Linked DNA regions of Homo sapiens: region 1 is linked to region 2. Evidence: promoter capture Hi-C in human tissues and cell types (Jung and others, 2019). All regions are on one chromosome and are shown on one strand. The core of a region is centred on a gene start or on the middle of the fragment in contact, and the rest is flanking DNA. Distances in the headings are between cores, read along the strand shown. Region 1 overlaps CDC23 (cell division cycle 23). Region 2 holds the start of REEP2 (receptor accessory protein 2).

Evidence for each region. The method cuts DNA at HindIII sites, captures the fragments that hold promoters and counts their contacts. A contact is called where the count stands out against the background at its distance.
Region 1: a fragment that was not itself captured here is called in contact with the fragment with the promoter of REEP2 in region 2 in 2 of the 25 tissues and cell types used here (bladder and spleen).

The regions. Positions count from the first base shown.
Region 1 is chr5:138,190,359-138,194,283 of GRCh38, forward strand. It overlaps CDC23 (cell division cycle 23), which reads right to left. Exons shown (of 16, transcript NM_004661.4): 10 at 2,146-2,299; 11 at 1,911-2,030; 12 at 1,504-1,579; 13 at 1,116-1,177. Among named protein-coding and RNA genes, the nearest start is that of KIF20A, 13 kb to the left of the region's middle. The HindIII fragment of the contact is 5,036 bases long and covers 1-3,925 here.
Region 2 is chr5:138,436,517-138,440,379 of GRCh38, forward strand. REEP2 (receptor accessory protein 2) reads left to right here and starts at 2,541. Exons shown (of 8, transcript NM_001271803.2): 1 at 2,541-2,724. The coding sequence starts at 2,693. KDM3B (lysine demethylase 3B) reads left to right here. Exons shown (of 24, transcript NM_016604.4): 24 at 1-511. RefSeq lists a silencer at 2,369-2,788 and an enhancer at 3,174-3,707. The HindIII fragment of the contact is 10,254 bases long and covers 1,869-3,863 here.

The DNA.
Region 1 (3,925 bases), core at 786-3,285, 250 kb before region 2:
GGAGCAGGAGAATTGCTTTAACTTGGAAGGTGGAGGTTGCAGTGAGCCAAGATCATACCACTACACTCCAGCCTGGGCCACAGAATGAGACTCTGACTCCAAAAAAAGAAAAAAAAAAAAAAAAGCTGGGCACTGTGGCTCACACCTGTAATCCCAGCACTTTGGGAGGCCAAGGCGGGTGGGTCATCAGAGATCAGGAGTTCAAGACCAGCCTGGCCAACATGGCAAAACTCTGTCTCTACTAAAAAATACAAAAATTAGCCAGGTGTGGTGGCAAGCGCCTGTAATGCCAGCTACTCGGGAGACTGAGGCAGGAGAATCATTTGAACCCAGGAGGCAGAGGTTGCACTCTAGCCTCCGTGACAGAGCAAGACTCCGTCTCAAAAAAAAAAGATAACAAGTGGCCAGGCATGGTGGCATAGGGCCATAATCCTAGCTACTCTCTAATCTGGCTGAGACCAATGACTTCAAGACCAACCTGGTCATCACAGCAAGATCCTATCTATAAATTACAAAAAAAAAAAAAAAGATACCAAGCAACTCAATTTTTTTCCTAAGAATCCAGACAGGAACCTCTTTACATTTAAGAACCTCTTTGCCTACTATTTGAGTTATTCCTAATTTTTCTGGCCCTTAGCAGGAAATTAATACTGAAAGTAGTTTGACACAAAAATGTTATCCTTTCTTCAAATCAATCTTGATCTCTTGCTTTAATAGGAAAGCAACGGCCCTCCTTCAAGAGAAGTAGCATTCTCTTTTTATTTTTTTTATTTTGAGATGGAGTTTTGCTCTTGTTGCCCAGGCTGGAGTGCAATGGCGCGATCTCGGCTCACTGCAACCTCCACCTCCCAGGTCTTGAACTCCTGACCTCAGGTCATCCACCTCCCTCAGCCGCCCAAAGTGCTAGAATTACAGGCATGAGCCACTGCACCTGGCCAGAAGTGGCATTCTCTAGGAACAAGATGGCTACATTCACAAACCAGCATTCACACACCCTGCTACATCCCTACACCTATGTAGAATGATGGGTGTATGGGAGGCTCTAGACCATGCAGGACCCACCATCCCAGAGAAGCCAACAGAAATATCAATAGCATTTCACTCCTTTCACTCACTTTGCCAGTTTCACCAGAGCCATTTTCTCCACATCTCCCACGGCGTAAGCTCTCCAATAACACTGTCAAAAAAATAAACTGGTCATTTTGACCATTGTCCCATGTGTCACAACTAAATCATATGAAGGTTAAGACCCTGCAAGCCTCCCAGAAGTTCAGATTTATAGAATGCAAGACATTTTTACTAGTTCTGATAGGTCTAGGCTACACACTGACATTCCCACTGATGACCTTGGCCCAGCTTTGCTTTCAGACTATGTATCTATAAATATTCAGACTTTCCTATGCACCTAGATCAGAATAAGGGAAAAATTAGAGCACAGATAGCCCAACCTTCATCTAAACAGCAGATTTCCACTCAAATTCTTCAGGACCCAATTTAAGGTACCTTTTTGGCTTCCACTAGTTGATTGAGTTTCTCGTAACATTCTCCTAAAGCAACCAGCATGCGAGAATCATTGGGTCTGAGAAAGAAGAACAGGCAGTCTGAGCAAAGACTTTACAGAAACTGAAGTTCTCTTTTGAGGAACCAGTACACCACTATTTCAAATCTATGCAACAACTGGTCTTTAACCTGATGCTCCATATAATAGATTACTTTGTGTTCATAATTATACTATTAACCCATTAGTGAAATATACTAAATGAAAATAACCAAACAGCCTTCAGCAACTTTAACCTCAGATCCCCAAGAGCCAAAACCATCCACTGTGATTTGTCAATAGCTATCAAAAGAGGAAAAAAAAGTTATTAGCCCTTCCCATATCAGACGCATTGTCAAGTGACCAGGCTTACCGAAGCTGGTGGGCCCGTCTATAATAATAAAGGCAGTAAAATGGCATCTTAAGGATTTCATAGGTCTGCCCGAGGCCATACCAAGCTCTGTAGTCCCGTTTGTTGACCTCAATGGCATGTCTAAGAAATGGAAAAGACAGGTTGTTAAGAAGGCAGAATCAAGGTTGGCAACTTGCAGGCTTAGAGGCTCCTAACCACAGCAATCTGCTCTACCTCACCACCTATAGATAATCACCTATAAGCCTGGATAGCAGCAGACGTGTTCTTCATCTCCATGTACTCATGTCCCATTAGTGTCCAGGCACCAAGATACCGAGGATTTAATTTCAGGGCTCTCTGGAAATATAAGGCTGCTTTCTCATGCTGAGAACGTAAACTGTAATAATTGCCTGATTAAAAATCAAACAAAAAAATGAATAATCAGAAAGGTAAAAATAAAAGTCCATTAAAATAGATAGCATTCCACCAAATGGGCGTGAAACCATAACCCATTCCCTCTAAAGTCCTGGCAAAACACCCAAATTGTACAAAAGGGAAATATTCCCTTGGGAAATATATTTCATCTGTCACACATTCCGGTTAAAAAAAAAAGTATTCTTAAACACTGCAAGTTTTTATTCCTTTTAATATCACCTGGATACAGCATTTATATACACAGTCTCTTTCTTTCTTTTTTTCTGAGACAAAGTCTTGCTTTGTCACACAGGCTGGAAAGCAGTAGTGTAATCACAGCTCACTGCAGCCTCAACCTCCTGAGCTCAAGCAATCCTCCCACATAAGGCTTTCAAGTAGCTGGGAGCACAGGCACATGCCACCAAGCCGGGGTAATTTTTAAATTTTTTTGTGGAGACAGTCTCCCTATGTTGCCAGGGTGGTCACAAACTCCTGAGCTCAAGCGATCTTCCTGCCTCAGCCTCCCAAAGTGCTGGAATCAAAGGCATGAGCCACCACATCTGGCCTATATATACATTTTCTTAGATTATGCTTTACATCGGTGGTTTTCAAACTATATTCCTTGGAGCCTAGGTTTCTAAAGAGGTACCCAGGCTGGGCATGGTGACTCACGCCTGTAATCCCAGCACTTTGGGAGGCCAAGGTGGACAGATCACCTGAGGTCAGAAGTTTCAGACCAGCCTGGCCAACATGGCAAAACCCTGTCTCTACTAAAAATACAAAAATTAGCCGGGCATAGTGGCGCACATCTGTAGTCCCAGCTACTCAGGAAGCTGAGGCAGGAGAATCGCTTGAACCTGGGAGGCAGAGGTTGCAATGAGCTGAGATCGTGCCACTGCACTCCAGCTTGGGTAATAGAGCAAAACAACATCTTAAAAAAAAAGGAAAAAAAGAGGTATGATTCTGTCTCAAAAAAAAAAAACAGGTACCTCAAGGGTTAAAAAGGTAGCATTCTGACCAGGAGTGGTGGATCACGCCTGTAATCCCACCACTTTGGGAGGCTAAGGCGGGCGGATCACCTGAGGTCAGGAGTTCGAGACCAGTCTGACCAATAGGAAGAAACTCGGTCTCTACTAAAAATACAAAATTAGCTGGGCATGGTGGCACATGCCTGTAATCCCAGCTCCTCAGGAGGCTAAGGCAGGAGAATCGCTTGAACCCAGGAGGCAGAGGTTGCGGTGAGCCAAGATCGCGCCATTGCACTCCAGCCTGGGCAACAAAAGCAAAACTCCGTCTCCAAAAAAAAAAAAAAGGTAGCGCTCTAAGTTTCCGTCTCACACAAGAATCAAAGCAGTTCTATTCTCATTGGTCTTAAAAAGTGGAAGTGAAAGATTTCAGCTGAAGAAAGTATAAGAGCCATCTGTCTTATATCAACTGGTGAATAAACAAAATGTGGCATATCCAAACATGGAATACTACTCAGCAATAAAAGGAACTACTGATACATGCTACAATATGGATGAACCTCAAAAGCATGCTAATGGATGGGAGGCTGAGGTGGGAGGATCACTTAAGGTCAGGAGTTCGAGACCAGCATGGGCAACATAGTGAGACCCTGTCTC
Region 2 (3,863 bases), core at 1,291-3,790:
TAGGATTCTTTTTCTCCCCCTCCCATCTTAGTCTTACCTTGAGGGAACAGTCATATGAGAAGGAACTTTGTCACATCTAAGCTGTGGTGTGTTCCCCATGTGTGTGTACAACACTGGTGACTCCAGGAACCATTTTCACCTATTACCAGTGTTCCCTGGGGACTCCTCTTAATGTTTCCAAATGGGAAGGACAGTTGATTTCCAACATGAGGTTTTTTGTTTTTTATCCAGAAATATTTTCAGCAAAACTTTCCAACTGAGTGGAGTCTGATTAAGGATTTATTTGAAAATGGTGGGATTCATTGGCCCATAGGTACATTGGAAAATGTATATCTCTCCAGCTGTACTGTAGTGCCCTGCAGGCTGTTTATATGTTCACAGTTACTTTTTTTTTTTTTTTTAAATAAAAGTCATTTAATGTAGAATACTTTTAATTTCACTTTCTGTATTTTAATTTTGTTGAAGGGCTGATTGGGATTTCCATGTTCTTATTAAAAATCTAACAAATCTGTTTGGAGTGGACTAAATTATTCGTGTACCAACCCTTCTAAAATCAACATCAGATTGGGAGTTGGGTTGGAGGTGGGGGATTCATTTCCAGGTCTTCATGACTGTGCTACACCCAGATATTTTTCTTTGCTTGTTGAGACTGTGCCATGTTAGAAAAAAGGAAAGTGCCAGGGTGAGGTCAGTATGGTTTGGGGAATTGGGGGTAAGGGGAAGGGGCCACATGAATTAGAGGGTAGAAAGAGAGACATGTTTCCCCATACTTTATGCTTTGTGAATGGAGTGGGAAAGTTGGGGTCCTCCCTTCCTGTGGCAGAGTCTGGGGGGAAGGGTCATGGTGTGTGGCCTCAGCAAAGTTGGACAGTCTGTGGTGGGATTCTTAAGCAGGCAGCCTGGCTGCCTACATGAAACGTGTGGCCATAGATCCACCTTAGAGATGGTGGGAGACACTCATGTGGGATTTATCAAGCAGTAATTAAAGTGTTTCATTGTGGGGTGATAACAGACTGCATTCCAATTAGGAGATGTTTTCTGGAGAGGAAGTTGTAAAGAATAGCAAGAGGGGTTATCAGAGGCTGCTTTTCTGGAACGTTTTGGGAAACATCTTCCAAAGTGTTTGAACCTGGAAATATAATTTACCAGGTTAGAAATAGACCATTGTGTTGTTCAGGGATACTGAGCTTGAATAAGACCATGACTCTTTGAAATACACAGTTCTGAATGTGTCCTTTCAGCCCAGATGGGCACAGGTTGATGCTGTGGTCACCCGAAGGATTACAACTCAACATAAAGGGTAGAGGAATGCAGAAGCTCTAAAATGGGACAGGAAAGGAGAGCAATAGGGCTGGGGGTGTTGGTGGATGGTTGGAGGTTGGTTGCTTTCCTGAAGATCAGGAGGCAGGCTAGCCTACATTCTGGATATAAATGTCTTTAGAATCAGGACATTCACTGCCACTAGTGCTTGCTGATGGGGGTGGAACTGGAGCCCCAGGACCCTCTCGCAGCCCCTCTGTTTGAAAAGAAGGTTGACCCTTTGTTGTCAGTAACCACATTGAGAGCATAAAGCTCTGTTCCGCTGCAAAGCTTAGGAGCTGACAACCTAAAAAAGCAGACCAGCAGCCCGGTGGCTCACACCAGTGATCCCAGCACTTTGGGAGGCTGAGGCGGGTGGATCGCTTGAGCTCAGGAGTTGGAGATCAGCCTGGGCAATATTGCAAAACCCCATCTTGGCAAAAAAAAACAAAAAACAAAAAAACAGGAATTAGCTGGTGGTGTTTTGGGCCTGTAGTCCCAGCTACTCGGGAGGCTGAGGCGGGAGGATCATTCAAGCCCAGGAGGTGTGCTGAGATTGTGCCACTGCACTCCAGCCTGAGCGACAGAGTGAGGACCTGTCTCAAAAAAACAAAACATCATCTGGTCAGGGGAGATCCTCTTTCAACGGGGTGAGAAGGAGTGGGGTGGACAGGTGCGGCTGTACCTGTGACTCAGGAGCTCAGGTGGATGTCTTCAGGGCCTGTAATGAGGAGAGTTTGCTAGTCAGCAGTTGGGGGATGTAACCTGTTTAAAGTAGGCTTCCTGGGGTCATCTTAGCAGCATGACTTGGTGGCTTTGTGACTCTCAACAGATTATTGAGCCTTAAGCTTCTCATTCCCTTATCTTCAAAATGAGGGCTTTTATAGCGCCTGCCTTATAGGGTGGTCAAGAGGATTCACTGGCAACGCAGTGAAGCTCTTAGCACAGGGGCTGGCACACAGTAAGCGCCTGGTGTGGGCAGGGCAGGAGGTGGGCAGGGGTCGATTTCAGGATGTAACCATGGAGACCTCCACGACAACAGCCTAGGGCTTGAAACCCAAGAAAGATGAACAAGCGATTCGAGGAAGGCAGGGCACTGAGGGTCGGAGGCGCATGCCCGGCCACAGCAGGTGCCGGGGCGGGGGCGCGCCGCCGCCGCCGCGGCGGCCTCCCGGCCTCCCCTTTAAGAGCCGCCACCGCCCACGGCCCGCCGCTGCGGCAGGGACCTCCCCTTTAACGGCGGCGCTGGGCGCTCCGCTGCCCCCGCGGCGGCTGCTGCAGCGGCTGCTGCTGCTACTGCGGCTCCTGCTGCCGCCGCCGCCGCCGCTCGGCCTCAGGCAGCTGCATCCTCGGCCGGGCCGGGTCCCCGCCCCGCGCCGCGCCCGGCCCCGCCATGGTGTCCTGGATCATCTCTCGCCTGGTGGTGTGAGTGCGGCGGCGGCGGGGGGTGATGCGGGCTGTGATGGAGGGCGGGGGTGTTAAAGCCCGGGTGGACTTCTCCGAAGCTTCGTGCAGCAGAGTCACCTAAAGGCGCTGCGTCCTTATTTGGGGCCCCCAGAGACATGGAGATGTGGCACCCAGGACTGGAGGGGGGAATATTAGGGGAGCGTGGCAGGCCTGGCTTCCCAGGGACCTCACCCACATTCTTTATTAATAACCTCTTTTATTTCTACCGTCCTTGCTCCTGCGCCCATCCTAGAGGCTGAGCAGCACGGCTTGATTTAAAAGGGGAGGCAGGCGCGTCCCCTCCCCCACCTAGCAGGTCTGGGCTGGAGGAGATCCTCAGACCCGGGCCCTGTCCCTCTGGGGGAGGTAACAGGGTGATGGAAGAGAGTGGAGCAAGGCAGGGCCTCATCATCATTCCGCAGCTCAGAGCCATCACCAGGCCCCTTGGTCTCTCCCTTCCACTCACTGTCAGGAGACTGGGGACGAGGGCATATGCCCTTAGGCCCCCTAGGGAGGAAGTCTGGGTATCGGGAAGCAGAAATGCTCGGAGGACAAAGTGTGAGAGGTAACTGGGAGAGGGGATGTGTGTGCTCAGCCTGGGATTGTGGACCCCGCTGGGGGAGGACGCTCCGTGGCCTTCATTCCAGGCTGCCAGCCACACTGTGGAGCTGTGTCTCTGGCACCTCCCCGGGCCCCAGGAGGGAACACACACCATTCCCCACGAGCCCAGACTTTGTCCTTGAGGATTCTGCTCCGCACTCCACTTGCACCAGCCGGTTTGGAAGTATCCCTCCTGTCCATGTGGAAACAGGCGACAGCCACACATTGTCAAGGGGCTGAGCCTGACAGGGGCTCCTCGTGGTTCTCGGAGCTATCCCCTGCCCTAATGAGGACACTGCCCCTCGGCCTCCACCGTTGGGGACTGACACCGGCAGCCCCACCCTGCTCCCTTCTTCCCATTCGGTACAGCCGGGCCGGCCAAGTGCTTCTGTCCTGGTTTACTCTAGACTCCTTCTCTTCCCCCACCCATCCCAGGGGGAATGGAGGGGCCTCACGCCTCCATGTGGCCTTCAGGGTGGCTGCTTCTCTCTTGCCTGGGCAAGCCCCAAAGGGCATCG